5 separate regions of the Homo sapiens genome follow, and all the other regions are linked to region 1. Evidence: promoter capture Hi-C in 16 types of primary human blood cells and fetal thymus (Javierre and others, 2016). All regions are on one chromosome and are shown on one strand. Each heading gives the region's core, a stretch centred on a gene start or on the middle of the fragment in contact. The rest is flanking DNA. Distances are from core to core; before and after follow the strand shown.

The links. Contacts are between HindIII fragments. The CHiCAGO score rates a contact against its expected background, and 5 or more counts as called.
Region 2: a contact is called between a fragment that was not itself captured here and the fragment with the promoter of RNF141 in region 1, in 2 of 17 cell types (total B cells and naive CD4 T cells). The highest score is 5.9, in total B cells.
Region 3: a fragment that was not itself captured here is called in contact with the fragment with the promoter of RNF141 in region 1 in 15 of 17 cell types (monocytes, naive B cells, total B cells and 12 more); the score reaches 17.0 in monocytes.
Region 4: a fragment that was not itself captured here is called in contact with the fragment with the promoter of RNF141 in region 1 in 1 of 17 cell types (M1 macrophages); the score reaches 5.3 in M1 macrophages.
Region 5: a fragment that was not itself captured here is called in contact with the fragment with the promoter of RNF141 in region 1 in 1 of 17 cell types (naive B cells); the score reaches 5.1 in naive B cells.

Annotation. Positions count from the first base shown.
Region 1 is chr11:10,538,558-10,544,086 of GRCh38, forward strand. RNF141 (ring finger protein 141) reads right to left here and starts at 2,630. Exons shown (of 6, transcript NM_016422.4): 1 at 2,565-2,630. It overlaps IRAG1-AS1 (IRAG1 antisense RNA 1), which reads left to right and starts at 2,679. Exons shown (of 4, transcript NR_046375.1): 1 at 2,679-2,985. RefSeq lists an enhancer at 2,706-2,815. The HindIII fragment of the contact is 4,708 bases long and covers 1-3,841 here.
Region 2 is chr11:10,752,682-10,758,210 of GRCh38, forward strand. It overlaps CTR9 (CTR9 component of Paf1/RNA polymerase II complex), which reads left to right. Exons shown (of 25, transcript NM_014633.5): 2 at 1-89; 3 at 2,277-2,516; 4 at 2,997-3,114; 5 at 4,068-4,157. Among named protein-coding and RNA genes, the nearest start is that of CTR9, 4.2 kb to the left of the region's middle. The HindIII fragment of the contact is 5,641 bases long and covers 1-4,071 here.
Region 3 is chr11:10,730,211-10,735,739 of GRCh38, forward strand. No RefSeq gene overlaps it. Among named protein-coding and RNA genes, the nearest start is that of CTR9, 18 kb to the right of the region's middle. The HindIII fragment of the contact is 7,606 bases long and covers 1-5,529 here.
Region 4 is chr11:10,705,307-10,710,835 of GRCh38, forward strand. No RefSeq gene overlaps it. Among named protein-coding and RNA genes, the nearest start is that of IRAG1, 14 kb to the left of the region's middle. The HindIII fragment of the contact is 613 bases long and covers 2,053-2,665 here.
Region 5 is chr11:10,685,501-10,691,029 of GRCh38, forward strand. All of the region lies in intron 1 of IRAG1 (inositol 1,4,5-triphosphate receptor associated 1), which reads right to left. Among named protein-coding and RNA genes, the nearest start is that of IRAG1, 5.5 kb to the right of the region's middle. RefSeq lists an enhancer at 2,912-2,961. The HindIII fragment of the contact is 855 bases long and covers 2,090-2,944 here.

The sequences.
Region 1 (5,529 bases), core at 1,380-3,879:
GCCATTTCCCTCTAGTGAGCTTCTTGAGGACAGCAGCTATGGTCTGTCTTCTGGCAGATACACAAGCACTCAATAGATGTTTACTGAATAAATGCAGTAAATACCATTGGCAGTTTTTGTTTTATTATTATTCACTTAGTATTCTTTTGACTTTTGTTAATTTGGTCAGTCATCTATTAGTACTAGGTTGGAGAGAAGCAGAAGTTAAAAATATGTATGAAAGAAAATGTAAAACTGTGAAAATCTGTCATTAAATTAATGCTTATGTAAACTGGGAAACATTTACTATTTGATTTTAACAAGATACTCCCCCCTAGGCCATGCAACAGTGGTATTGCATAGAAACATAATTTGCAAACCACTGGCACAGAATTCAACAAAAGATGAATTTCTGGTCAAGATTTCTCAAAGAACTAGCAGCTCTCATATTATTGTGCCACCTATAACACAGTCATTTTTTGCAAGATAAAAATATGCTTTCAAAAAGCATTTGAAGGATTTTCTAAATAAAGAACTGTTATTTTGAAATGCACAAGATCAAGGATTCCAAAAATGCCACATTCTCTAGTGGGTGGTACATAGTGAATCACTTATTTTTCTAACAAATGAATTGTGGAAGTTCAAATATTCCTTATAAAAATATTAAAATTACATCATGGGTAACTGGCAAAGCAAAAACGAAAAAACTGCTCAAAAACTCCTAAAAATTTAAACCATAATTCATTCATAAAATAACTAAAGCAAAATGGAAAAGGCTGAAAATGCACCAAAATGACTAAATGACAAGTACTGCACTGTAGTATTTTAAAAACCTCTCTGAAACCAGTTCTCCATCAAATTTTGTATCAACCTCACCTAAAAGGATTTAATTGAAATAAACATCAATGATTTTCACTGTCAAGTCAACTTTAACATCAGTAATAAATACCAAGTACTACTGACTGGGTCCCTAAGGATATTATTTACTTTATTACTCATTGTTTACTCAAACTGTAGATCTGTAAACAGATATCAACTTTTTTTTTTCAAGACAAGTTAATATAGATACATAGTGAAATAATTAGGCCAGAGTCACTATAGAGTCCAGAATGCCTGTTCCAGAATCAAAGATCTTGATCAGAAAAAGATACATACATATATATTAGAGAGAGAAGGAGAGAGAAACTACAAAAGGATAGAGTGCCGTACTAGGAGATTAAGAATATGGATTTCTCACAGTAACAGTGTGTTTACTAAATGCATTTCATATTGGAAAAAGCATATTAGACTTGTAAGAATTCTCTCTGGACCTCCCTTGCCTTTTTGGGAAGGAAAGCGTGTTTGTATTTAGATGGGAACCAAGAAGGATCAGGCTACACACATCGAATATAAAGTTCATTTACACCAAATGACAAATATTAATTTTTGAAACATATAGTCATATTCTTGAGAAAAAGTTCTAGAAACTGAAGTCAGGCAATGTGAAAGAAAAGGATAAAAATCCATACTATTTTTGAGCTCTGAATTCAGAAAGCATCACTTCTCAGACGGGTGACTTCGACATGGAGGTGACTAATTTAGGATCGTCGGCCGGTGGCAGCTCATGCCCCCAGACAAAATTCTGAATGGGTAGAGGTCATTTTATAGCAAGAAGAATGGGCAGAAGGGAGTGAAAACGAATAAATTCGTGCTGAAGATGTAAGAATTATAAACAATTGAAAGTGTTCCAGCAGCTTTATATATATGCCAGAGGCAAGAACTGAATTAGCTGGCACCGCTAAATAGGACAGTGTCAGAATATAAAAGGTACACTACCTTTAATAAGGGGCATAGGGATCGATTTCAATAACAATCGTAAATCCACATTTTGTAACGCCGAGACAAATAACTGAAGGAATAATTTCAAAAGCTAACACAGAAGCCTTCTGCTCCTGCTGTGTAATCACTACCTTCTTATTATTAGCAAGAAAACGTTCTTTTCTTAGCCGGGTCTCAAGGTAGCAGCTAGTTTGACAAGGAAAGACCTTTGGGAAGGGTAGCAGCCTAAGCCAATTCATAAGTGTGGGGCTGGCTAAGTAGATCGACGTGGCTATTTCTGAGCTATCGTCCCAGGCAAAAGGTTTCTTATTTGGGTGTCCAGCCCGGCGGAGACCGAGCCCGCGGGCCACCCTAGCGCTCGCTCTGGCTACGCCGCCTCAGCCCCTCCTCAAGCGCACCTGGACATTTAACCAACAGCTAAGTCCGGCGGCCGAATGACTGAGCCGGCGGCAATATTCAAACAACCGTTTTGGGATAGAGAAGGAAAAACTCTCTCCGGGTCCCTCAGAACCACCCCGAGGCGGGACAAGCCACCGCCACCCCGGGCAACTGGAACCCGCCGGGCAGAAGACGGGCGTCAATAGAATGGCCTCCCCAGCCGTCCCCACGCCCCAATCCGAGGCCCGGGGAGGGCGGCGGGGCTAGGCCTGTCTCCCCGCGGAAGCCTGGCTCGGCAGCGGAGGGCCCTCTGGGGTTTCTCTTCCCAGACCCAGAGTCCTGGAGCAGCTAGCAAGGGAAACACGAAAGGACAGCGCCGCGGAGCTCACCCCAGGTTCAAGGCATCGCGCACCCTGCGGCAGCGGCTGCGCTGCCTCAGCCCACAGCTCAGACCTGCGGGTGGCCGCGACTCAGGCCGGGACCCGGTCGCACCTCTGTGACGCAAAGCCCCGCCCCCCGCGCGTTGCCGGGAGACGGCGCCCAACCTTCCTCTGCAGCGCCCCTACCGACCCGCGCTCCGCAGCTCCTGAGGGCTTTCGAGCCCAGATGGTCATCTGAGACGAGAGGTGGCGGCGAAGGAGAGTCTCGCCTGTCACGCTCCCGGAGCAGGGGCTTCATGAGGTGGCCATGGAAACAGCCTGGCAGACTCCCATCTCTCCTGGTGCCATCTCCGGAGCGGAAAGTGGAGCGCCCCGCTGGCGACCAAGGCCGCACTGAGAGCCCTGGTTTGGTCAACAGTTGGGCTCCAAGGTACCACTTCCCAGACCTCCAGCCTCCCCACTGATGATAGATACACAAAGGTCATCTTGTTTCTTTATGAGGCAATGGATTGTGTTCACCTAGCCGAGTTGTTAAGCATAAGAGAATGTATGAAAAGTAATTACAAGGTTCAAAATCCTGAGCTTTGATAAATGATAGATATGATGATGAGCACATGTTAGTGATATTACTGCTCTGCGGGACGTCTGAATCAGTAATTGCTGTCTTTTAAGCATCTGTTGTGTGCCAAATACTGCACTAGGCACTTTACGGGCATTGCTCTTGTTTAAGTCGTCTGGTCAAAGTTGCCTAGACAATAAACAGCAGAGCAAGGATTTTAACCCAGGTACAGCTGACACTGCTGCCTCTATGCTTAGCAGTTAAACTGGTTTTTATGTTTCTTGTTTGTACACCCCTCCTTCACCAGTCACTTGTAGATTCACCTTGTGAAGAGCTAATTCTTCCCTCTAATAATAATACTCTTTGACCATTTACTATATGTCAAACCGTATTTTAAGGACTTTAAAGGTATTAATTCGTTTAATCTTCACAGCAATCCTGTGAGTAGGTATTATTAATACCTTCACTAAGACACAGGCTTAGAAAAGTCGATTAACTTTTCCAAGGTCAAACAACCATTAAGGAGCAGAGCCAGATTCAAACCCAAGCAGACAGAACCCTGAACCTGTGTTTTTAATTCCTGTTTTAAACTGCCTCGGTAGTACGGTAAGACTTCATTAGCGCTAGGTCCATGCCTGTTTGTGCACCATTATTTCCCTGACAGCCAGCATGGTACTTGTTCAATATTTGAACATTTGATGAATATTTGAACACTGGAAAAGGAAAAAGCTTAAAAATGAAGTATAAATAATGATTTAATAAATTCCAAAAGATATCAAATTCAACAAGATTCCATAGTTCAGCCTAATCCGGGCCTGGGAGTTAGAAATATTACTCTGTAAAAATTGCCTTCAATTAAACATTGTATTGGAAGTTCTGGTCAATGAAATAAAAAAAGACAAATATATAAAAGGCATCCAAGTTGGAAAGGAAGTTGTAGCACTGCATTTATTTGCATAAGAAAATTGTGGAATACTACAAAAAAGCTGCTAGAACTCATAAGTGAGTTTACAAAAGTTGCAAGATACAAAATCAAATATACAAAAATCAGTTGTATTTCTATATACTAGCAATGAACAATTAGAAATGGAAAATTTTTAAATATCTCTTATCAGCAAAAAAAAAAAAAAAAAAAAAAGCAGCAAATTTGGGACAAATTTGACCAAAGATGAGAAAGACATGTATACTGAAAACTATAAAATATTATGGAATAGCAAAGACATGGAATCAACCCAGGTGCTTATCAATAGTGGATTGGATAAAGAAAGTGTGGTACATATACGCCATGGAATACTATACAACCACAAAAAGGACTAGATCATATCTTTTGCAGCAACATGAATACAGCTGGAGGCCATTGTCCTAAGCAAAATAATGCAGAAACAGGAAACCAAATACCGCATGTTCTCACTTATAAGTAGGAGCTAAACGTTGAGTACACAGACACAAAGTTGGGAACAATAAACACTGGGGATTCCAAAAGGGTAGAAAAAACTACTATTGGGTACTATGTTCACCACTTGGGTGACCTGGATCATTAGAAGCCTAAACCTCAGCATTGTTCGATATACCCATGTAACAAAACTACACGTGTACCCCCTGAATCTAAAATAAAATAAAAAACATTGTTAAGAGAAATTAAAGAAGACCTAAATAAATAGAGATACATTATGTTCATGAATCAGAAGACTGAGCATTTTTAAGATATCACTTCTGCCTAAATTGACCTACAGATTTAAGGAAATTCCAATAAAAATTCTAGCAGATTTCTTTTTGATGGAAATGACCAAACTAATTCTAAAATTTATATGGAGATGCAAAGGACCTAGGATAGTCAAGACTTTCATCAAAAAAAACAAAGTTTTGGGACTTACACTACCTGATCTCAAGACATTATAATAAGAGCTACTCAACACAGTATAGTATAGGTATGAAAATAGATAGAGTAATGGAACAGTATATAGAACCCAGAGATGTATCTATACATATGTCATCAATTGATTTTCGACAAATATGCCAAGGCAATTCAGTGGGGGAAAAGATAATCTTTTCAACAAATAAACCTGAAAAAATTGAATAGCATATGCCAAAAAACTCTTAATATCTTGCTCCTTTCCTCATACTGTCACAGGATCCTTGGAGTGTTGCTCTGCCAGCCAGAAACCTCTGTGGCCGGTGGCTCCTTTGCCCGAGTTTTGCTCAGGCCCACTGGGCTCATTCTGCCCATTTGGCCTTGCAGGCTGCACTCGGCTCATGCCACTGGCCCAGATCCCATGCCTGCCAAGGACGAGCCAGGCGCAAAGTGGTGAGGGGTGCGTGAGCAAGTGAGCGCGAGGTCTGGCCGCTGTGCACAGCTAGGCACGCCAGCTGTGGCGGGGCGGGTGGCTCCAGGTGCTGGCATGGGCGCTGGCTCCT
Region 2 (5,529 bases), core at 1-2,500, 210 kb after region 1:
TTGACTTCGATCAGTTACCGGAGGGAGATGAAGTTATCAGTATTCTGAAACAGGAACACACACAACTGCACATATGGATTGCTTTGGCGGTCAGTATTCATGTAGCAAATATTTTTTATTTGTTGACTAGGAAAATATGTAGTTTCTGTTTTCAGATATAGTAATAGCCAGCTTGGCTGCATGGTAGATTAGTTATACCATGTGTATGGAAGTTAATTGTGTTAATAATTTATGGAACAATAAGGCCGTTTTCCTAAATGATATGCTGCTCTACTGGTGAATTAGTATATGTTGGTAAAGGCAAAATTCATTTAAGTAGTACTCTATATTGAATATTTTATTATTTAGTGCTTGTTCAGTGAAGGCTGGCTTATGGTTTATAGATAAGCTGAAAAGAAGCGAAGTGCTTCTGTGTGAACATTGCTGCTTAACATTGTTTCCTATAACAACAAAACACTTCCCTTAAAATATTCTAGAATGTGATTAGGTTCTGGGAAAATCACTTCACCCAAAATCACAAAAGTTCTTTTGGGTGAAGTTTATCTCAGACTTATGTTTTTTGTCCTATTTAGTCTCCTTCAATGTGAATCTTACTGGAGATTCTCAAGAAAATCCAATCAGAAACCCTAAAATTCTATATCCTCTACTTGCCAGCATCAGCTGCATAATGATGTTTTCTTTTTATAGGAATAGGTAATATAAATGTTACAGTCATTATTCCTAAGTAGATATGCCACATTGCTTTCATACAAACATACAGAAGAGGCTCCTAATATTGTCTTGAAGAGTCAGAGAAATAGGTCTGGAATTGGGCTTATATCCAGTGCTCAAGACTGCTCTAAGAGTTTCTTCCTTTTAGATGTGGATTTACAGAGAAGTATTTTCAGTGACAAGCAGTGCCTTCTTGACTTGAAGTGCCAACTTTTCTTATTCCATGGAGACCAAGCCTCCTTGTCACACACATTTTTTTTAAAACCAGATGGTAATTTAGATGTATATATAATATATATTATATATATATATATTTTTAAGTACATATGCCCTCCTTAACAGCACTTAAACAAAAATTAGAATATTGGAGGATTAGCATGGCACCTGTAGTAGAATAAATTAATGACACATTGTGGGATATAGATTTTTACAGGGAAAAGAATGTAGGCTTTGGGGTTAGATCAAGTCCCGGCATGGCTGCTAACTAGCTATGTGACCTTAGACAAATGATCTAACTTCTGAGCATATGTCCTCATTTAAAATATAGAGATGTTAGCATCTACCTCATAGAGTGGTTGTACAGATTAGAGAATATGTGTATGAAATTCCTTTCATGGTATGTGACCAATAGTCAGTGGTTAATAAGTGGTGGATATTCCACATAGAGACAGAGTCTCTCTATTTTGCCCAGGCTAGACTCAAACTCCTGGGCTCAAGCCATCCTGCCACTACAGCATCCCAAGTAGTAGATTACAGGTACATACCACCACACCTAGTGGATATTTCTTTTATTATTTATAAGTCAAACAGATGCCTAGAGAAGTTGTTAAACAGGCCCAAATCACAGATAATTTTTGGTAGATCTAGAACCAGAACCCAAGTTTTCTATTTAGAATTCTTCATATCTTTCACTATTGTTTTCTCTCTTAGGCTCTACTTATCTGAAAATTTTAGTTAGAAATCAACTAGATAAGCAGCAGATTGGGAACATTGTGAATGATTCCAGTTTTTTAAACAGTTTTATTAAAGTCTAATGGATTTATAATAAACTGCACATATTTGACATTTACCATTTGATAAGTTTTATCATCTGTATATACCTGTGAAACCATCACCACAATCAAGATTAATGAATACATTCATCACCTTCTGAAAGTGTCCTCTGTACCACTCCCCACAAGTCCCCCACCCCACCCCTAATCCCTGTGCCAGACAACCACTGGTCTGCTTTTTGACACTAGAGATTGTTTTACATTTTCTAGAGTTTTATATAAATGGAATCACACAATATGTACTCTTTTTTTGGTCTGATTTCTTTCATTCAGCATAATTATTTTGAGATTTATCCATGTTGTAGCATGTATCAGTAGTTCATTCCTTTTCATTGTAGGATAGTATCCATTTTATGGATACACCACAGCTTGTTTATCCATTCACCTGTTAATCAACATTTTGATTGTTTCCAGTTTTTTGTTATTACAAATAAAGCTGCTGTAAACATTTGTGTACAACTTTTTATATGGACATATGCTTTAGTGATTCTAATTTGTTTCATTACCTTATAGCTGGAATACTACAAGCAAGGAAAAACAGAAGAGTTTGTAAAATTGTTGGAAGCAGCACGTATAGATGGCAATTTGGACTATAGAGACCATGAAAAAGACCAGATGACTTGCTTGGATACATTGGCAGCGTATTATGTACAACAGGCTCGGAAAGAAAAGAATAAGGACAATAAAAAGGATCTTATTACACAGGCCACCTTGTTGTATACAATGGCCGATAAAATTATTATGTATGATCAGGTAAAAATAAAGTCAAATTTCTTTCCATTTATGAAGGGAGAAAAGCACATGAAAGCAAAATGTGTGTGATAGCAGATTTTTTGAAAGAGTTTTTCTTCAAGTAACATGGTTGATAGAGTCAAAAAGAAGAAAGGTTCCTCATTAAAATCGGAATGCTTTGGTTTTTGTACTGTTTAAGTAATATGGACAAATGTAGTACATAAAACTTGCTCCAGTAATTTTATTATCTCCAGGTGAATTTCAAGGATATTTTAAGGAATTTAAATTTTTCTTTTGGTTGTTGTTATTGGCACAGAAGACTTACATTTCAGGATAATTTCTTATTTTGTAATTAAGAATTGCTTGTTAGTAGCTTAAGCACGTTACATTTGATAGGGGAATTTGCACTGTGCTCCACCTCCTTCCTATTTGGTTTTCACTTTAGTGTTACATGTTCATGGTATATAGGGGTAAAATCTAAGATAATACATTACTTCATAGAACCATTTGTTGGGAAGAGCCTGCTTCTGCCTACTTGAGGGTGACAAAATGGATCAAGCTGATGCACAGTTTCATTTTGTACTCAATCAGTCTCCAAATAATATTCCAGCCCTTCTTGGTAAGTGGTCTTTGGCAACATGTTAGGAAACAGTTGTTTTCAGCATATGCCTAGAATATATCTCTTGGTAATAGCTCCTTAATAACTCAGCTAGACAGCAAAGTAGAAGAGCTTTATGTTGTTACAAATGAAATTACCTACAACAAATATTGTTGAAATTGTAGAAATAAAATATATACCAGTTAAGAATAATTTATTATTTAGGCCAGGCATGGTATAATCTCAGCACTTTGAGACCCTGTCTCGTTATACCTGTAATCCCAGCGCTTTGAGAGACTGAGGCAGGAGGATCACTTGAGGCCAGGAGTTCAAGACGAGCTGGGGCAACATAGCAAGACCCCATCTCTACAAAAAATAATTTTTTCAAAAAAGAGTAATTGGTTATACACTTCTGAAGAGCCAATAAACAATCTCTACTTAGACAACTTAAAGTTATTTCAATTATTACTTTATAACATTTTTTAAACTTTTATTGAAGTTCAGTGGTACAAGTGCAGGTTTGTTACATAGGTAAACTTGGTCATGGGGGTTTGTTGTGCAGGTTATTTCATCACTTAGGTATTAAGCCTAGTACCTATTAGTTATTTTTCCTGATCCTCTTCCTCCTCCCACCCTCCACCCTCCAAAAGGCCCCAGTATGTGATGTTCCCCTCTGTGTCCATGTGTTCTCATCATTTAGCTCCCACTTATAAGTGAGAACAGGCAGTATTCAGTTTTCTGTTCCTATGTTAGTTTGCTAACTTTATAACATTTAACATAAAAATAGGAAGTTTTATTTTTAGACATAAATTAGTATACTTTTATGAAAAACAAATTTTTAATATGAAATTTTGTTCTGTGTTTTCAAGTATTTCTCACTCAGAGATGTATTTAACTTAGATAAGTTAGTGTAAAACATAATAGACTTGTAGCCTTTAATCAGACACTGTGTTTATTTTTAAAAATCATTACAGGTAAAGCTTGCATTTCCTTCAACAAGAAGGATTACAGAGGAGCTCTTGCTTACTATAAGAAAGCATTGCGTACTAACCCAGGATGTCCAGGTAAGAGAAAAATTTTATTTTATGTCTAAACTGTGTATTACCCAGCTTAAAGCATTGAGGATTTGTCAGTTGCTTATGAAGTTATGAAAAGATATTGTTGGATTATAGAAATGTCAGAATCAAGTTTTTTTTTTGATGCTATGTTTGAGTCAAAAGCTGGATAGTAAGGCCAGGTGCAATGGCTCATGCCAATAATCCCAGCACTTTGGTAGGCAGAGGCAGGACTACTTGAGCCCAGGAGTTTGAGACCAGCCTGGGCAACGTAGTAAGACCCTGTCTCTACAAAAAATAAAAAAGTTACATGAGCATGGTGGCACACACCTGTGGTCCCAGCTCCTTAGGAGGCTCAGGCTGGAGGATCGCTTGAGTCTGGGAGGTTGAGGCTGCAGTGAGCCATCATTGTGCCATTGCATTCCAGCCTGGGCAACAGAACAAGACCTTGTCTCAAGGGGAAAAAAAAATAGATAGGGTCTGGCTGCACTGGTTCACACCTGTAATCTCAGCACTTTGGGAGGGTGAGGTAGAAGGATTGCTTGAGCCCAGGAATTTGAGACTAGCCTTTGCAACAAAGGGAGACCCCCATCTCTACAGAAAATCAGCCGCACATGGTAGTGCTTGTGGTCGCACCTACACAAGAGGCTAGGCAGGAAGATCACTTGAGCCTAGGCATTTGAGGCTGCAGTGAGCCATGTTCATGCCACGGCACTCCAGCCTGGGCAACAGAGCCAAGACCCTGTCTCAAGAAAAAAAAAGTCTGGATAGTAGATTATAATATAATCTTTTTGCCCTATACTATTTTTCTTTCCAAAATGTCATTCATGTAGCAAATTTTTACTGAGTACCAACTATGTGGCAGGCAGTGTTCTAAACCCTGAGAATGTAGCAATTAACCAAAGAGACAAAAGTTCCTGCCCTCATGGAGTCCAGTTTTCAGTGGGCAAGATAAATAGTAAAGTATGTATGATGTGTAAGCTACCAGTAAGAGCCAAGGAGAAGAATAAAGCAGAAAAAGGGTATGAGAAGCATCAGGAATTGCTTAGAAAGGATGACCAAGGAAACTCATCAGAGATAGTGACATTTGTGTGAAGACCTAAAAAACAACTAGCAGCCATGCAGATATATAGGAGAAGACCACTCCTAGAGAGAGAGCATAGAAGGTACAAAGGTCCAGAGGAAAGAGAGTGCCTGGTAAGTTTAAGGAAGAGTAAGGAGGCCATTGTTTCTGGAATAGAGAGAGAAAGAGTTGGGGGGAAAGTAGTAAGAAATGGGGTCAAAGCTATAACCAGGGACTGACTAATCACGTAGGGCATCACAGATTATTGTAAGGACTTTAGTTTTTACATCGACAGAGATGGGAAGCCATTGGAGGGCC
Region 3 (5,529 bases), core at 1,169-3,668, 190 kb after region 1:
GACCCACCTCGTCTTCCAGCTTCTGTCTGAGGCAGCCATCAGGGTGACACTCTGCTGGGCTGGCATGCCCACTGACACCCTTCCAGAAGCATAGAGGCAGCTTCTCAGAGGACTTCTTCTGGTAGGAGCTTGTGGCTGTTTCTTACAACATCATGGATGATTCAGGAACATGGGTGTGCAGTGGCTTCATAACTCCAATCCCAACCTCAGCCTCTGCAGAGCTGTCCTGCAGCCTCATTTTTGTCCCCCACACATTTCATCACAAGAGAGTAGTCTCCACCTTCCCCACTCAAGCAGTGGCTTTGGGTTTGAAGTCGGCTTGTCTGTCAGTTGCCAACCATGCTACAAACTTGACTAATCTCTGAGCTCCAACCTCAGGGCCCCCACTTGTAGTTTCTCAGAGAAGTCAGACTTGTCTTCCTCAGACGTATATGGGCCTCCCAAGTGGGCTTCAATTCCTCAGAACCTTCCTCGATGTTCTTTTGTGCAGAGAATAACAGAGGCCGGTCTCTTCACAAGCCTAACATGAGAACCTAATGGGGCCAGGCGCGGTGGCTCATGCCTGTAATCCCAGCACTTTGGGAAGCCAAGGTGGGCAGATTATTTGAGGTCAGGAGTTCGAGACCAACCTGGCCAATATGGTGAAACCCCATCTCTACTAAAAATACAAAAATTAGCCAGGTGTGGTGGCGGACACCTGTAATCCCAGCTACTTGTGAGGCTGAGGCAGGAGAATCGCTTGAGCCCAACCCAGGAGGTGGGGAGGTGGAGGATGCAGAGAGCTGAGATCTTCCCACTGCACTCCAGCCTGGGCAACAAGAGTAAAACACCTCGAAAAAAAAAAAGAACCTAATGGGATAATTATGAGATGCCCTCATACATGTTTAGACCTCAGTAAATCCCAATTGTTTGCCTCTACTCCCTTCCTGTGGTAGGCCACTTCTGAAATGGTCTTGATGATCTGGATAGTCATGAAACCGCCTTTGCAAAAATTTTAACTGAGAAATTTATGACAGTGAAAGAGATCTGACCTAACTGACTCCATCTTGCTTCTAACCTCCAAGCTGTCCGTGTTCATTCCTGGGCACAGGCCGAACTAACTTTGGGAGGAAGTCAGTTTATAGTTTAACTTTGAAATAAAGATGATAACAGCCCTTTCCCAAAACAAACCCCCTTCCTGCCTGGGAACTAGACTGCCTTTGCAGGACTAACAAATTTGCCACAAGATTAGAAATTGTGGTTTAGGAGTCATGCAGCTGGAGGCTGTAAGATTCTGAACCTTCCCAAATTGCATCCTGGGGCTAACATCACTATTGTAAAGCCTAAGATCAGTGTTTGAGATATTTTGCAGACCCTGCCCTCAAAGGATGAGCTGGTACCACCCAGATTGATAAACTGGCTCATCCAGTCATGTGGCCCCTACCCAGGAACTGACTCAGTGCAAGAGGACAGCTTCAACTCCCTATGACTTCATATCCCACCTGACCAATCAGCACTCCCCACTTCCCGACACCCTACTCGGCAAATTATCATTAAGAACCCCAATCCTCGAGTTTTCAGGGAGACAGCTTTGAGTAATAATAAAACTCTGGTCTCCCACACAGCTGACTCTGTGTGAATTAAACTCTTTCTCTATTGCAATTTCCCTGTCTTGATAAATTGGCTCTGTCTAGGCAGCAGGCAAGGAGAACCCAATAGGCAGTTACAGTCACATCTTGGTGTGTCCCCTCATGTGTGTGTGTGTGTGTGTGTGTGTGTGTGTGTGTGTACTGTACAGAGTGAGTTGCTTCTAACATAATAGGACTAAAGTGATGGGGTGTCACTTCTGAGATTAGGCTATAAAGGACTATGACTTTCATCTTCCTTGCATCTTCTCTCTCTCTCTCTCTTTCTCTCTCTCTCTCTCCCTGCTAGCTAGGGAGTCAAGGGGGGGTACCCAGGACACAGAATTGAAGAAGACACTCCTTCTCTGGCCCATGCAAGTGCAGGGTCAGCACCTGAGAGTGAGTGTCTCTTCAAATGCTGTGCCCCGAGTGCCTTGCCTGCCTCACCTTCCTTCTAGCCAGCTCCCAGGGCAGACCTGACCTGCACCCCTATCCCAGCCTTGACAATCTCTGAACAGGTCCTGGCCAAGCATGGTGATCAGATTTCCTACCTCCTCCAGCTTGATTTCTGGGCCAGATGTCAGAGATAGGGGGCACCCGGATCTCTGAGAACCAGCTCTTCTGTGCCAGGCTTCCTGGCACCGAAAAACCAAATATATTTCAATCCCTCTGTCCTCATGTCTCCATGATGGATACTGGTCTTTTGTATAGTCAGCAGGTCCTTCTCCTTTCATACCAATAGACAATGACAGAGGTAGTCCGAGTCGAAGCCCACCGCACTTCCCACCAGCTTGCTCCCAAGCGCCAAAAACAGAAAAAAGCACTGTGCATGAGCTGCTTTCCCGTGCCCTCTCAGTATGGCGTAGTATATGAGCATGGCAACGTTTACCAGGAGGGGATTTTAGAATGCCTCCGAATCTTCCAAGCACTATGTATTTTAATGTGTATGATGACAGCTATCATTTGAGGGATGCTAGGCACTATGCTAAGTGCTTTACTTGTGGTTTTTGGTTTGATTTCCTCAAAGACCTTAGGAGGTAGGTCTCATTTTTAAGGTCTTAATAGGTTTATTAACCTATTAAGTTAATAGGTTAATAGAAACTCAAGTCTTAATAGGTTTATTAACTTGTGTGAGATCACGGTTAATACACCGTGGCCCTGGGACTTGAATTCAGTCTAGCTGGGCTCTAAGCCTGTGTGCCCAGCACTATGCCACACTGCCTCCCCAGCAGAGTTTGACTTTCCAAGGCCCACTGGGCTTCTCCTTCCTACCATGATCAGAATCCTGGTATAAGAGTTTCTCTGCCAGGTGCAGTGGCTCACGCCTGTAATCCCAGCACTTTGGGAGGCAGAGGTGGGCAGATGACCTGAGCCCAGGAGTTCCAGACCAGCCTGGCCAACATGGCAAAACCCCATCTCTACTAAATACAAAATTAGCTGGGTGGCGGCTTGCACCTGTAGTCTCAGCTACTCGGGAGGCTGAAGCACAAGAATCACCTGAACCCCAGAGGTGGAGGTTGCAGTGAGCCAAGATCGTGCCACTGCACTCCAGCCTGGGCAACACAGTGAGACTCTGTCTCAGAAAAAAAAGAGTTTCTCTATTCTCCCCATCCCCCCTCTGTCACTCCCATGAAAGTTTAACTAAACATGAGAAGTTAAGTAAACATACAAATAAAACTTGCCTTCTACCTCTTTAACATGTCCCTTCCCGAGAAGCCCACCTAGACCAAATCACAGGCAGGAGGCCGCTATGGGGGTGGCAAATGGCATTCTGTTCTGGAAGGGCAACCACAAACTTTAGAGCCAAGAAGCCCTGGCTTGGAAGCCCAGTTCCACCCCTTTGTAGCTGAGTGGGTGATTCTGTCTCTGAGCCTCATTCATAATCTGTAAAATGGGGAAAGCAATGCTCACTTTTTAGGGTGCTTAATTCACTCATTAAATGAATACATTTAAATATATATAATATATACTGATATAATTGAATATATTATATATATAAATAATAATCCTGTGCCCTGAGAGCCACCATGTCAGCCTAGGTTTCCTGCTCTTTGAAATTTCCAAACATTGGCTGGAATCTCATCTTGGCCTCTGCAAGGAACAAGATCTATTTAGAGATTTGTTACAGATTTCAATTGTGTCACTTTCCTTTTTAAGGCAAAGCGGCTACAGTGGGCCATGGTTTTAAATACTATTTTCTTCTTCTCTGTTATATGCATAAGGCTCCAAGAACTGTGTCAGGTGCATGCGGTTACTTTGAGGACCAAGAGGACAAAGGAGGGGGAGGAAGGAGCAGTCCTCCTTAAAGAGGAGGCTGGACCCCTCCTGGGCTTTCCCATAAAAAAGTTCTGGGAGCAGTAGATCCATTCTGAGATTTTCAGGTATAAGAAACAGAAAATGGCCGGGCGCAGTGGCACCCACCTGTAATCCTAGCTATTCAGGAGGCTGAGGTGGGAGGATTGCTTGAGCCCATGAGTTTGAGCCTATAGTGAGCTATGATCATACCACTGCACTCCAGTCTGGGTGACACAGTGAGATGAAAGAAAGGAAGGAAGGAAGGGAGGAAGGGAAAGAAAATCCAACTTGAATGCCTTAAACAACCAAAACAATGTATTGGTTTACAAAATCTAAAGTTTAGAGGTAACGTGGGCTTCTGGCACGGGCTGTTGAGAGCTCCCAGTGTTTTGGGGGCTGCAACTCTGCTTGTCTGAAAGTTTCTCACCTCTGCCTCCCAGTCAGCTTTTTCTAAACCAGCCTTTCCTTGAGGTAGCACAAGGCAGCTGACAGCGTCCAGGGCTCAGCGCTTCCTCACTCATGTCTGGGGGATCAGTGTGGTTGTATGCCCACCCCTAAAACAATCGCAGTGGCCAAGGGAATGCCAAGGGGGCAGGGATTATGTTGATGGGTTTAGGCCAATTGGAACTGACCCCTGAAACTAAGAGTTGGTTTGATCCTAGACTTAAACCACAATAGGATGGGGGAACCTGCAATGGCAACTGCAGATATTCACCCCAAAGACCCTTCTTCAGTGTGGGTGTGGGTGTGGGTGTATTGTGTTGTGTCAGTGTGTATGTGTGATGTGTCAGTGTGTGAGGTGTGTGTTTGTGGGTATGAGAGTGTATTGTACACATGATGTGACTGTGTAAGCATGTATGTTGTGATTGTGCATATAAGTGTGTGTGTATGTTTGTATTAGTTGAGAAGACCATATGCTGGACTAAGTGTGCCTTGCATTATTTTTTAAAATTTTATTTTATTTTATTTTATTTCAATAGTTTTTGGGGTATAGGCGGTTTTTGGTTACATGGATAAGTCCATCAGTGGTGATTTCTGACATTGTATTGCACCCGTCACCCCAGCAATGTACACTGTACCCAATATGTAGTCTTTTATCCCTACTCCCCTCCCAACCTTCCCTCCACCCCCACCAGTCCCCATTGTCCATTATATAATTCTTGTTGGGGCCTTCCATTCTGACTCTGCTGCTACCACCTTGCTGGCCCCCAAGGGTCTCCCCCATCCCCCAACCCTCGCCCCCGTTTATGAGCAAAATCCCTTTTCCCCTAAGCATAGATGATAGGGTGGAAATTTTAACAACTTTCCTAACGAAAAAGGAGAAGAGAAAGGAAATCCATTCAGAGAGCATAAGAAACCTAGAAAATCATTTCTGACAATGTATGTCCCTGAACCAATTATGACCTCCTATTTCCCCCACTCAGCTGTCTCAGAGCCTTCCCAGCTCCCTGCCTGGCGCTAACTGCTGGAGGCCACCCTAGGACGTTTGTCCCCTAGCAGCCAAGGCCAAAAATCTCATTTGCACATTTGTACTCACCATTCCACCTCAGGGCCCTCCGTCACCCCCACCCCCGTCCTCTGTCCTCTCCTCCCGCCTCCTTGGAGAAACTTAGTGACATTTCCAACAAGG
Region 4 (5,529 bases), core at 1,109-3,608, 170 kb after region 1:
TCCAAGGTCAGTTTCCTCATCTTCAAAATCAGTAACACTGGGGATTGCCTTCAAGAAAGTTGGCAACTGTTATGGCCGGGGTACTAGCCACTAAGTATGGGTAACAGTGACTGTCCTGCTAGAGCTGGGTCCTGGAAGTCCCCAGCAGTACCAGGCATCAATCCTTCAGTTGCCAAACTATGACAAGGTCCAGGTAATCCTAGGGAAGGGGCCAGGGTGACTGGGGTGATAGGGAGAGGTCTCAGGGCAGCAGCAATATGCAACTGGCAGGGAAGTACCTTAATATTTGAACAATTCATAGCCATGGTGGGGTGGATGGGCTGAACATTAGCCTGGGCGCTCCTGAAATACCCCATAAAGATGTGGCCCTCAGGAAATAAAAGGATATCCAGGATGACCAGTTGAGCAACTGATGTAAAGTAAAATCATTTATTGAGATGAGAAAGCCTGGGAGGAGCGAGCCGGGGACACAGGAGTAATGGACTCAGAGTATTATTTTGGACATGTTAAGTTTGGTTGACTGTGAAACATCCAAGTAGAGATGACACTTGGACAGTTGAACATGTGAAGCTCCACAGAGAAGTGGGAACAACAGTGATGAGGTGGGCAGATGAGAGAGAGACTCAAGAAACTTGTGCCCTAACTGCTTGTGGGAAATGGGAAGAACAGAGTGAGTGACTCCAAAGTTTTGATCTCTGGACAGGTAGAGAGAAGTTAATGCCCTGAGGAAGCCAGGAGCAGGAGTGCATTGGTTAAGGATGATATGAGTTCAGTTTGAAATGCTGGTGGGAGGCCCAGATGGAGAGGCCCAGCAAATGGTTAGAAATGCAGAGTGACAAGGATTGTGGCTTAAGAGAGGTGCAGACTGGTGACATCGAATTCAGAAGTATGGACTTCTAGGAGAGCTTTCAGTCACAGGCCTTTGTAAACTGATTAGGGTGGGTGTAAGAGAAAAGAGAGCTAAGGGAAGAAAGTCAGAAAGACAGAGAAAGAGAGAGAGAGAGGACATAATAAAGGCTTGGAAAGAGAGAAAGGGGAAAATCAACACAGAGGACCAAAAAATGAGGAGCCAGTAAAAAACTGGCAAGAGACAGGAAGTTGCTGTCAGTACATGGAAAAGAGGAGGAGGTGGCCTGTAGAGTACTGCAGGGAGCCCAGGAGATGAGGATTGCAAACAAGCTATCAGACCTTAGAAAGCCTTGTCAGTAGACCGGTGGGTTTCGTGAGGTCATGGAGGTGAAGGCTGTGAGGGTCACTTCATCATTCGCTGAGCAACCATGGACTGTCATATATGTAAGATGAACTGTGATACCAGGGAGACCTAGAAGTCCCGAAATGAGGTGGAAGCCAGGTGAGGATTTCAGAGCAGGCAGCACTGCTCTTTGGAGAAGTGTGGTAGATGAGTTTGTTCCCTCCTCTGAGCTCCCCTGCACCCTGTGCTCACACACATCATTACAGCAGAGCTTTCCATGGCTGTCTACCTGCTCACAAGGGTGAGTGAACAAGACTGTTCATGGCTGCAGGTGGTCAGCTGGGGATTGTGGTAGCCCCACACCCTACCAATACATTCAAAGAACAGATAGGAATCAGTATCTCAGCCTGTCTTTACCCCATTCGTAGCCCATGAGAATGCTGGAGCACACCAAAGAGAAACTCAGTATTGCACACCTATCGTCTGATGTTAGAACTTTATTTTTTTTTCTTTCATTATTATTATTATTATTATTATTTTACATGGACAATGGTCAGTGGCCTAATATTGGGGCTTTTCTGCCTCCTCTACCTGGTTGTGAGGTCCTCAAAGATAAGGACCCAGGCAATGCATCTTTATAATAATAATAGTAACAGCAATGACAACAGTGATGTATTGATTATTTATTATGAGCCAGGCACTGGGCTAAGCCCCTCATATGGATAATCTCATCCGATCCTCACTAAAGCCCTACAAGGCAGGCATGTTGTTGTTATGAATATCAACCCATTCTAAAGGTGAGGAAACTAAGGGTTGGGGATGATAAGTAATTTGACCAAGGTTACAGCTGTCAGAATGCAAGCTTAGATTTTAATTCAGTTAGTCAAATTCTAGAACCAGCACCCAAAACCAGTGGCTCACACTGCCTCCTGATGCAATAGCCCCAGTGCCTAGTTTAACATCTAATACATGTTAAGTGAAAATGTTGGCTGAATTAAACTGGGAAGAATAAAAAATCTAGTTACTGGGCATGGAGAGATAGGTTCCAGGTCTTTGAAGGGAGATCTGAGCTGAATTGTGCATGGAGAAAATGAGTCAATAGGGAACACCAGAGGGAACACCTCAAGAACACCAGAAACAGCATGGGAACACAGGAATTGAAATCACATCCTTGCTAAGTAAGAGGAGAGGCCCAGGTGCAGCCAGTTTGGGGTCTGAGTGAATAGAGCCAATGGCTACTTGCCTGCTGGGCTCTGCTTGGTTCTAGGCACAGACCAGGCCAGGCAAGGATGAAATGAGGTATGGACTCTGCCCACAAGGAAACCTCTACCCAGCCTGCCCATACGAAGATGGGGCAGGGCTGGGAATGCTACAAAAGCTGTAGAAGCTCAGAAGCTGTAGAAGCGGAGCTTCTGGGAAAAAGAGGTCTCTGGCTCCCGGAGTGGTCAGGAATGGCTTCATGACAGAGGGAGAAGCTTCAGTGGGGCCTTGAGTGTTGAGTTGAATAGGGAAAATCAAGGGAGGAGGAAGGGATTCCAGATTGGGCCAGCTGGGTGAGCGGACTCTGCTGGACCCAATAGCAGAATTGATGGGGAGAGTGCAGGATTCTTTGAGTTGCAAAGAACAGAAATCAACTCTGGCTGGCTCAAGTGTTAAAGGGGCCTGTGCCAATGATAACTGAACCCCCACAGAACCCAGGACTGGTAATTAAGTACACCCAGACCTTGAGGGAGCAGAGGGCTGTCAGGAACTGAAGCCCTTACTCTGTTAATCTGTGTGAATGTCTGCGTCCCTGTCTCCCACACACCATGTGATCTCACAGGCCATGTAATCTCTCTCTCTCTCCCCCTTCTCTCTGAGAATCCATTTTCTCCTCCTCCTCCTCCTCCTCTTCCTCCTCCTCTTCCTACCTCTTCTCCGGCTTTTTCTGCACACTCACATTGCTATGGCCCATCATGGCCTCTCAGCTCTAGCCTTCTCCTGCCCCGACCCTCTGACAGCTATCTCCTGTTTCAGATTAAAAAAAAGACCTGGTTTGTCTGTTTAAGCCAAGTCTCCAAAGTTACTAGCTACCTTTAAGGCAGATATCCCTCTCTGACCAGATAGCCATATCTTGGACCACGTGATAAACAGGGTGGCCGTAGGTGGGATAGGCAATAAAATATGTTAGAGAAAAGGAGCGAGGAAAGGACCTCGCATTTACTAAGCTCCTGGTATGAGCTAAGAACTGTGCCAGGTGACCTGCATTATGTGATTTAATGGCCCAGTGAGATTGATTTTATTATTCCTATTTTACAAATGAAGACACTGAAGAGAAGTTAAGCAATTTGCCCAGTCACAAAAGTAGAAGGTAGCTGAGCTAGAATTCAAATTGAAATCTGTCCAACTGCAAAGTCAATGTTCTTTCCACAGAACCACTCAGCCAGGGAATGGGGGTTATTCAAGCTAGTTAAAACCATTGAACTTAGTCTAAGGAGACCACAGGGTTCAAACCTTGCAGCTTACAGGTATTTGCTGTGGCAGACCTTCTTAACATTTTTAGGGTCCCATAACTCTGAGAATCTGACAAAAAGCTATGAATCTCCTCCCCAGAAAAATACACACATGCCTATACCATTTGGCCTGTGCTTTCATGGGATTTACAGACCTCCTGAGGCTCATCCACTGGCCCGCACCTAAAAGTCTTTGCTCTACAGCATCCCTGACTATTGATTAACTTATCCTCCATTTGAGAGAAAGGGCGAGAGAGCTCATTCCTTTATGTTAAGCCCATTCCAACCATAAAAACTTCTATGTCACTTTCTCTCCTTTAGTTCTCTCTAAGGAGTAATACAGAACCAATCTCCCTCATTCCCTGGCAAATATCTAAAGACAGTGACTACAGCATGCCCAAGGCTCCAGCTGAAGCCAAACTCCTGTTGTTTGTTTAAAACCTGTCCCATGCGGGTCTCTTCCACTGAACACCACACACTTTGCCAAAGTCCCTCTCATAATGCAATGCCTGGAATAGCATCGTGGACTGCTTGTGTCATCCAACCAGCATCCTCTTTATTCAGGGGATTCTGATTTCCTATGGCCAGTACACTAGACTACTTTGATTGTGTTTGCTCTTGTATCAGCCATGTCATTACTTGGCTCATGGGAAATCTATGGTCCACTGAGACCCTAAGATCTTTATCACAGGAGTTGAGCTATCCCTACTTTGCCCTTTCCTAAACTATCCTGAGAAACACTGTGTTTCAGCCTGTTCTTCAAACACAGGATTTTTATGCTGGTGCCATGACACAACAGATTGTTTATCTCACTAAGGAAGAGTCAAATCTTTCTCAGATTCTCCCTTCTGGCTTCACATAGTTTTTCTGTTAAATGGAAAAAAGAAAGAGATGTGGAGCAGAAAAGGATTTCTGAGGTTTTCACGTTGACATTCCACCATTAGATGAATGCTAACAAAAGCTCGATTTCACTAATCCTAAAAGGAACTTGATCTCCAGATGCACTGGCCTTGCTGGTTCAATGCCTGCACCACGAGGCCTTCTTCCACAGCCCAGAGTTGGGTGTTTTTTTCTTTTTAAAAGTCTTTGAAGTTAAAAAGTGCACATATTACTTTTAAAGAGCAAACCCAAAAGAAGCTTTGTAAGCAGATTTGTTCAAGTGAAGGCTAACCGAATTAAAGAAAGAAAAAGAAGGAGGAGGAGGAGTGGGGGAAGGAAGGATGTATCTGTTCCTCATCTCTCTCATGTGCAACACTTGGCAGCTCCAGGGCTTGGGCCCCAGACCCAGATTCTTTTCTATCCTCACTCTCAAGATGATGTTATTCAAGCTCATGATTTTCAATACCATCTGTATTCCGAAAACTCTCCAACGTTTATGTCCAGCTTGGACCTCTCCCTTAACTCCAAAGTCATACGCCCAGGTGCTATTTTACTCAATACATTTTCGGGGCATCTTATAGACATTTCTAACACGTGTCCAACCCCTAATACCTGCTTTTCCCTCAGTCTTCTCCATTTCAGTCAATGGCAAGTCCATCCTTCAAGTAGCTCAGGCACAAAACATGAGTCATTTGTGATTTTCCTCCAGTTCCCCACGCAACCCACAGGGAACTCATCAAAAAGTCCTTTTGCTCTACCTTAGAAATATATCCAGAATCTGACCATTTCTTACCATCTTTACTAGTGTAAGCAACCACAATTTCTTGCCACGTAATCAACACAATTGCTTCCTAAGTGCTCCCCTGCCCCCACAGAGCAGGCAGAGTGATTCTTTTATTTGTTTATTTATTTTGAGACAGGATCTCACTCTGTTGCCCAGGCTGGAGTGCAATGGTGACGTTCACT
Region 5 (5,529 bases), core at 1,267-3,766, 150 kb after region 1:
TCCAGGAGTTTGAGACCAGCATGGGCAACATAGCAAGACCCTGTCTCTAAAACAAAAAAACGTTTAAAACATTAGCCAGGTGAGGTAGTATATGCCTGTAGTCCTAGCTACTTGGGAGGCTGAGGTGGGAGGATCACTTGAGCCAGGGAGGTCAAGCCTGCAAGTCAGCTGTGACTATACCACTGCACTCCAGCCCAGGGGTCAGAGTGAGACCCTGCCTCTCTTGAAAAAAAAAAAAAAAAATTGTATACTTCAGTCTCTTGTGAGTTTGATTATTGTGAGTCAGTCTCTACATAAGCAATCAACTAATCAATTCCAGGTCACTAACCAGGCTTAGGGATAGGTCCAGGACTCTAGAACATCCCCAAGGTGATGCTCCTTGGGGAAGTCTCTTAGAAGCCAACTAGCCAGGTTTATCTTGACAACACCTAGCCTTATCATCATTGCCTTCCAAACTACAACGGGGACCAGTTAGATCTCAGGTGGGAAACAAGAAAGATGTCTTAGGTAAGAAGCCCAGGAAGACATTACATTCTTTCTACCATACCCATACAAGTCAAAAATATGACAAGAGAGTCCTTGGGGAAACCTGACCATTTGGGGGCATCCAAAATAGAGGACTCCCATGTGCTCAATATTAATCTGGGCTTCAATAATAATAATTACTTATTGGGTACTTATTCAGGTATAAGTACTTTAGATCTAGCAATCCATTTCATAGGTAAGGGGACTCAGAGGTTAGATCATTCGCCCACGTCAAACAGTAAGTTGTGGGGCTGGGATTTGAACAGACTGGGTGACCTCGGCAACATTTACAGACTTTTAGGGCACAAACTTTGGAGAGCCATAGAAAGTGACTCAAGACACACAATGTAGGACATGGCATTTCTTGCCAGTAAAAAGCTTGTGATTCTAAATTTGTATTTTTCCTTCTAAATAGAGGAAGGAACTTGTTCATAAACAAGACTAGGAGACCTGATAAAGATCATTACATACTGAAAGAAACCAAGAGAAGTGCAAAGTAGAGCAAGCCTAGTGGGGAAGCTGCTCCAGTGCCCTGCCCCGAGAGCTCAGGACCTCAGCTCTGAGCAGCAGCACTGGGACCTCCAGGGCTTTGTTCTTATAGGGGCAGGAACAAAGGGTCAGGCATTATCACTCTGTCCTGCAGCCAGGTCTATAGGCCACAGAGAGATGGAAAGAGATGGGGCTTGGTGGTCTGATGGTTTTGGTTTGACTCTCATTCTTCTCATACTAGTTACTATCCTCCTTGAATCAGTTTGTTCACAAATACCTCCCTTGCATGGCTAAAGTACAGATTTGATGAGATATTGTATAAAATGTGCCTGGCACATACAAACTTGCTCAAACAATGGTAGTTCCTTTCCCATATATTTTCTCATCTATCTGTAAGAAGTAACCCAGAAGAAAGGAGTTAAGAGATCACTTGCTCCCTGTCTGGAGTTGCCTAAATGAAACTTCTGTGAAAAAAGGAAAATTCATCGCCGCAGAAACTTCTAGTCAGATGCTTGCCTTGTCTAAGGAAGGACTCTGCATTAAACAAGTTCCCCACCAGGCATCTCTGGAGAAAAGATGAGGATTGATTAACTGGAAAAGGGAGGAGAGGGGGTGCCCATGGGACCATGTGGCAACCCCTGCAGCCTCGGCCCTGCCTGTCTCTCACTAGGGCAGGACACAAGTCTTGCCAGGTGCCCATGGGAGACCAGCCTTGCAAGTGGGCTTTAGCCAGGCCCTCATAGTGGTACCCCAGAGTGCCACGCTCTTCCACACCAAGAGAATGGCTATCTGATGGTGAGTTCTGAGAAGTACCTGCATGAATAGCTCAGCCCTCCCTCTTCTGTTTCTCTAGGGAATTAGCTGCTTTCAGGGGACACACATTCTGCTCTGTTTCTCCAAGCTTTAATATTTAAAGAGCCCTACTTTCCCCAGTGGGCACCCCCTAGGGCTGGGGGATAAATCTGCTCAATGCAATATTAGAAAACCTACTTGCCTGTTGATCCAAACACTTTCCAACACCAGCTTCATCAGTCATACGGGTGATATTAGTCTCTGAATTCCCAACAAGCCTTAAAGCTTCAGTGAAGGAAAGAGGTGTTATTTATTGGGCCTCCTTAAAGACTTCACCAGACACAGATGCCCAATCCTCTTGAGAGGAAGTCCACCACTCTCCTTGCGGTGTTTTTGGAGTTGAGAATAGGACCCAGGACTGTGGATGGTCAGAGCCTCAAACCCAGTGCAGAAGTCTTCTTGATGGAATCTCTGGAGGGGAACAGACAGGGGCTAGAAATAATAAGACCTAATGTATACCGAGTGCTAAGAATAGACAGTGGGCTAAGGGATTTAGCTTTGCTTTTTTTTGGGGGGGGGTGGTATTTAACTTTGTAAAATGGACACTATCATTACAGGTCGAGCATTCCAAATCTGAAAAATCTGAAATCTAAAATGCTCCAAAATGCAAGAATTTCTGGCCACTGGCAAGACACTCAAAGGAAATGCTCACTGGAGCATTTCAGATTTTGGATTTTTGGATTTGGGATGCTGAACTGGGTAAATATGATGCAAATATTCCAAAGGCCAAAAAAAAAAAAAGTGAAATCTGAAACACCTGTGGTCCCAAGCATTTTGGTAAGGGATACTGAACCCATATTACAGGAGAAGAAACTGAAGCGCCAACAGATTAGGTGCAGCTCAAGGGATACAGCTGGTCAGTGGTGGAGCCACACGGTCACTCCAGGGTCCACACTTTCCATAGGGACACTGTGCTGCCTCCATTACAAGATGTCATCTCCCCACTGTGATAATAAGGGAAGAGCTGGCCAACACTGAGCCCACCTCCTGACTCAGAGCCCGGGGTTATTTTCACCACACCTGTATGAGCAAAGTCAAGAATGTCTTCAGGCTTTCTTCTCCTCCTGATGAGCCAGGAAGCTTGGGCTCTCTGGAAACACCCTCTTGATTTGCTTATCAGCCACAGAACTCTCTGTGGCCTCTCTGTGTCCCTTCCCTGGTGGCCACTCTGGGAACCACATCCCACCCCTAGAGCCAGGCTGTGTGCAGTGTATAGTCTCATCCCTCTCAGCCTCTCTCATTGAGCCCATTGGTTCCTAAATTCCTGTTGGTTTTGCTGGGATGACTCAACTTCCCCAACACCCTGCACTCACCAATACCTGGATTCCACCAAGTTCATACAACCCGATTTCCACCAAGCCGTGGTGGAATGACCTGACTCATTTATACACTATGCTCACAATTTTTCCCATGCCTGTGTTTTACCTATGCCTTTATTTACTTAATATTCTTTCATTTGAGTAGCAATGGGCCAGAAAATCAAGACTGAAACCCCGGTTGGCCATTTACTAACTTTGTGTTGTTAGGCAAGTTTCTTGCCCTCTCTGTGCCCCAGTTTCCTGATCTGTATAAGGAGGACAATGACAGTAACTACTTCAGAGGGTTGCTGTGAGGACTGAATGAGCGACTGCAGGTAAAGCATTAGGACAGTGCCTAGCACACGGTACACACTCACCAAGTGTTAGCTACCATTGTCATTACTTTTATTTAAAAGGGAAACTTTATATTCCTACCTTAAATGGAAAAAGCAATACCACTTACCACAAATAGAGTTATAAAAATAAATAAAATGAAAACGGTTATTAAACCTTAGCTAAGGCCTGCTCTCATTTTTTTAAGAAGGGAAACAAACAGAAAGATGGTGAAGGCATATGAGGCTTAAATGAGGGTGACCAACCTTTTGAATTTGTCCAGGACCTGTCCCAATTTTAGCACTGGAAGTCCTGCAGCAATTCTCATTCCCGGCTGACCCTGGACAGTCGGTCAACCTACCTCAAATAGAGGCTTTCTCTCCTTCATTCAAAGGAATAAAAAGAACTTAAGAAGGAATAATGTTCTTACAATGTGATGTTGTGTGTTTAAGGCTGGGTCAGTATCCCACATACGATCATCTTGCAGAACAAGCTCACACCTTGGGCCACACCACACAAACCCACCTCTGAGAGCTGAGTCTCCAAATGCTATAAACCTATGGAAGAGCCATCATGTCACATGTGCCACTGAGAAAGTCCCCAAAGAAAAATCACATTTGTAAATGCCAAGAAGAGGAACAGTGATTAAATTGTTGCACGGCTAAAATGACTCTATGTTATAAAACCATTGAAAAATCATGTTTTGGAGAATCTTTAATGATATGGAAAAAGGATTATATTAGAATGCTCAGTTTTAAAAAGCAGACTAAAAAATAGCATATACACTAAGATCCTAGTTTTACAAAATATAGAGAAATGTAAAGGAAGAAACACACCATAATATAAACAATACTTATCACTGAGGAATGGTATTCTAGAGGGTTTTTTATTTCTTTATATTTATTTCTGAATTTCTTATTTATATCCACTTCTATATTTTCCAAGAAAGTCTAGCAAAGAACATGCATTACTTTTTTTTCTAGAAAAAACTGAATAGAAATTACAAATTACAAATAAAAAAGTAATAGGAAGAAAGTAACCAGAGCTGATTAAGCCCAGCCTTAGCAGACTTTTTTTACATGTCTTCTCCGCTAGGAAAAGTTTTCAGTCTGGCCGGGTGCGATGGCTCACGCCTATAATCCCAGACTTTGGGAGGCTGAGGTGGGCTGATCACTTGAGGTCAGGAGTTCGAGACCAGCCTGGGCAACATGACAAAACTCCATCTTTACTAAAAATGTAAAAATTAGCCAGGCATGGTGGTACTCACCTGTAATCCCAGCTACTTGGGAGGCTGAGGCATGAGAATTGCTTGAACCCGGGAGGTGGGGTTGCACCACTGCACTCCAGCCTGGGTGACAGTGCGAGACCCTGTCTAAAAAAAAAAAAAATGTTTCCTGTCCGACCAACTGTCCTCTGCTTTCCACCTCCCTTGGAGAAAGCCCTTGCAGAGAAGGCAGGGCTTGTCCAGGGTCATGGGCGTGAGTTACCTCTGCTAAGACTCTGAATTTGAAGGCCCATTTGTGAGGCTGCCCTGGACTGTCGCCTGAACTCAGAGTCTAGCCTCCAAGGTCCACAGGACTAACATGATATCCCCTTTCCCTCTATTCGTGATTTTCCTGTGATTTGGACTGTGACACTCAGTAACTGCCCCAGGACCTAAGTTACTAACTAGCGGCAGGGTGACATCTAATGCAGGAAGCGCCCGCTTTGGACCAAGGTGGCTTGAGCTGGAGTCCACCACCTACCAGCTGTATGCCTCTCTCCTCATCTCTAACATGAGGCTTAAATTAAATAACAGATCTAGCACAGATCCTGGCACAAAGTAGAAGCTCAATTAATACCAATTTTCTCCCGTTTCCTTTTACATTCACTACCTGAGAACTCAGCTCTCCATCTCCCTCCTCTGACTCAGCTCCCCAAGGGGCAGGGGCAGGGCCAGAGTCTGGGGGCCCCAAGCTCTCTTCTCCCTATCTACCCAGGCCTCTGCTTCTATTCAGTCAGCAAACAATCCCTCTGCTGACCAATAAGCCCC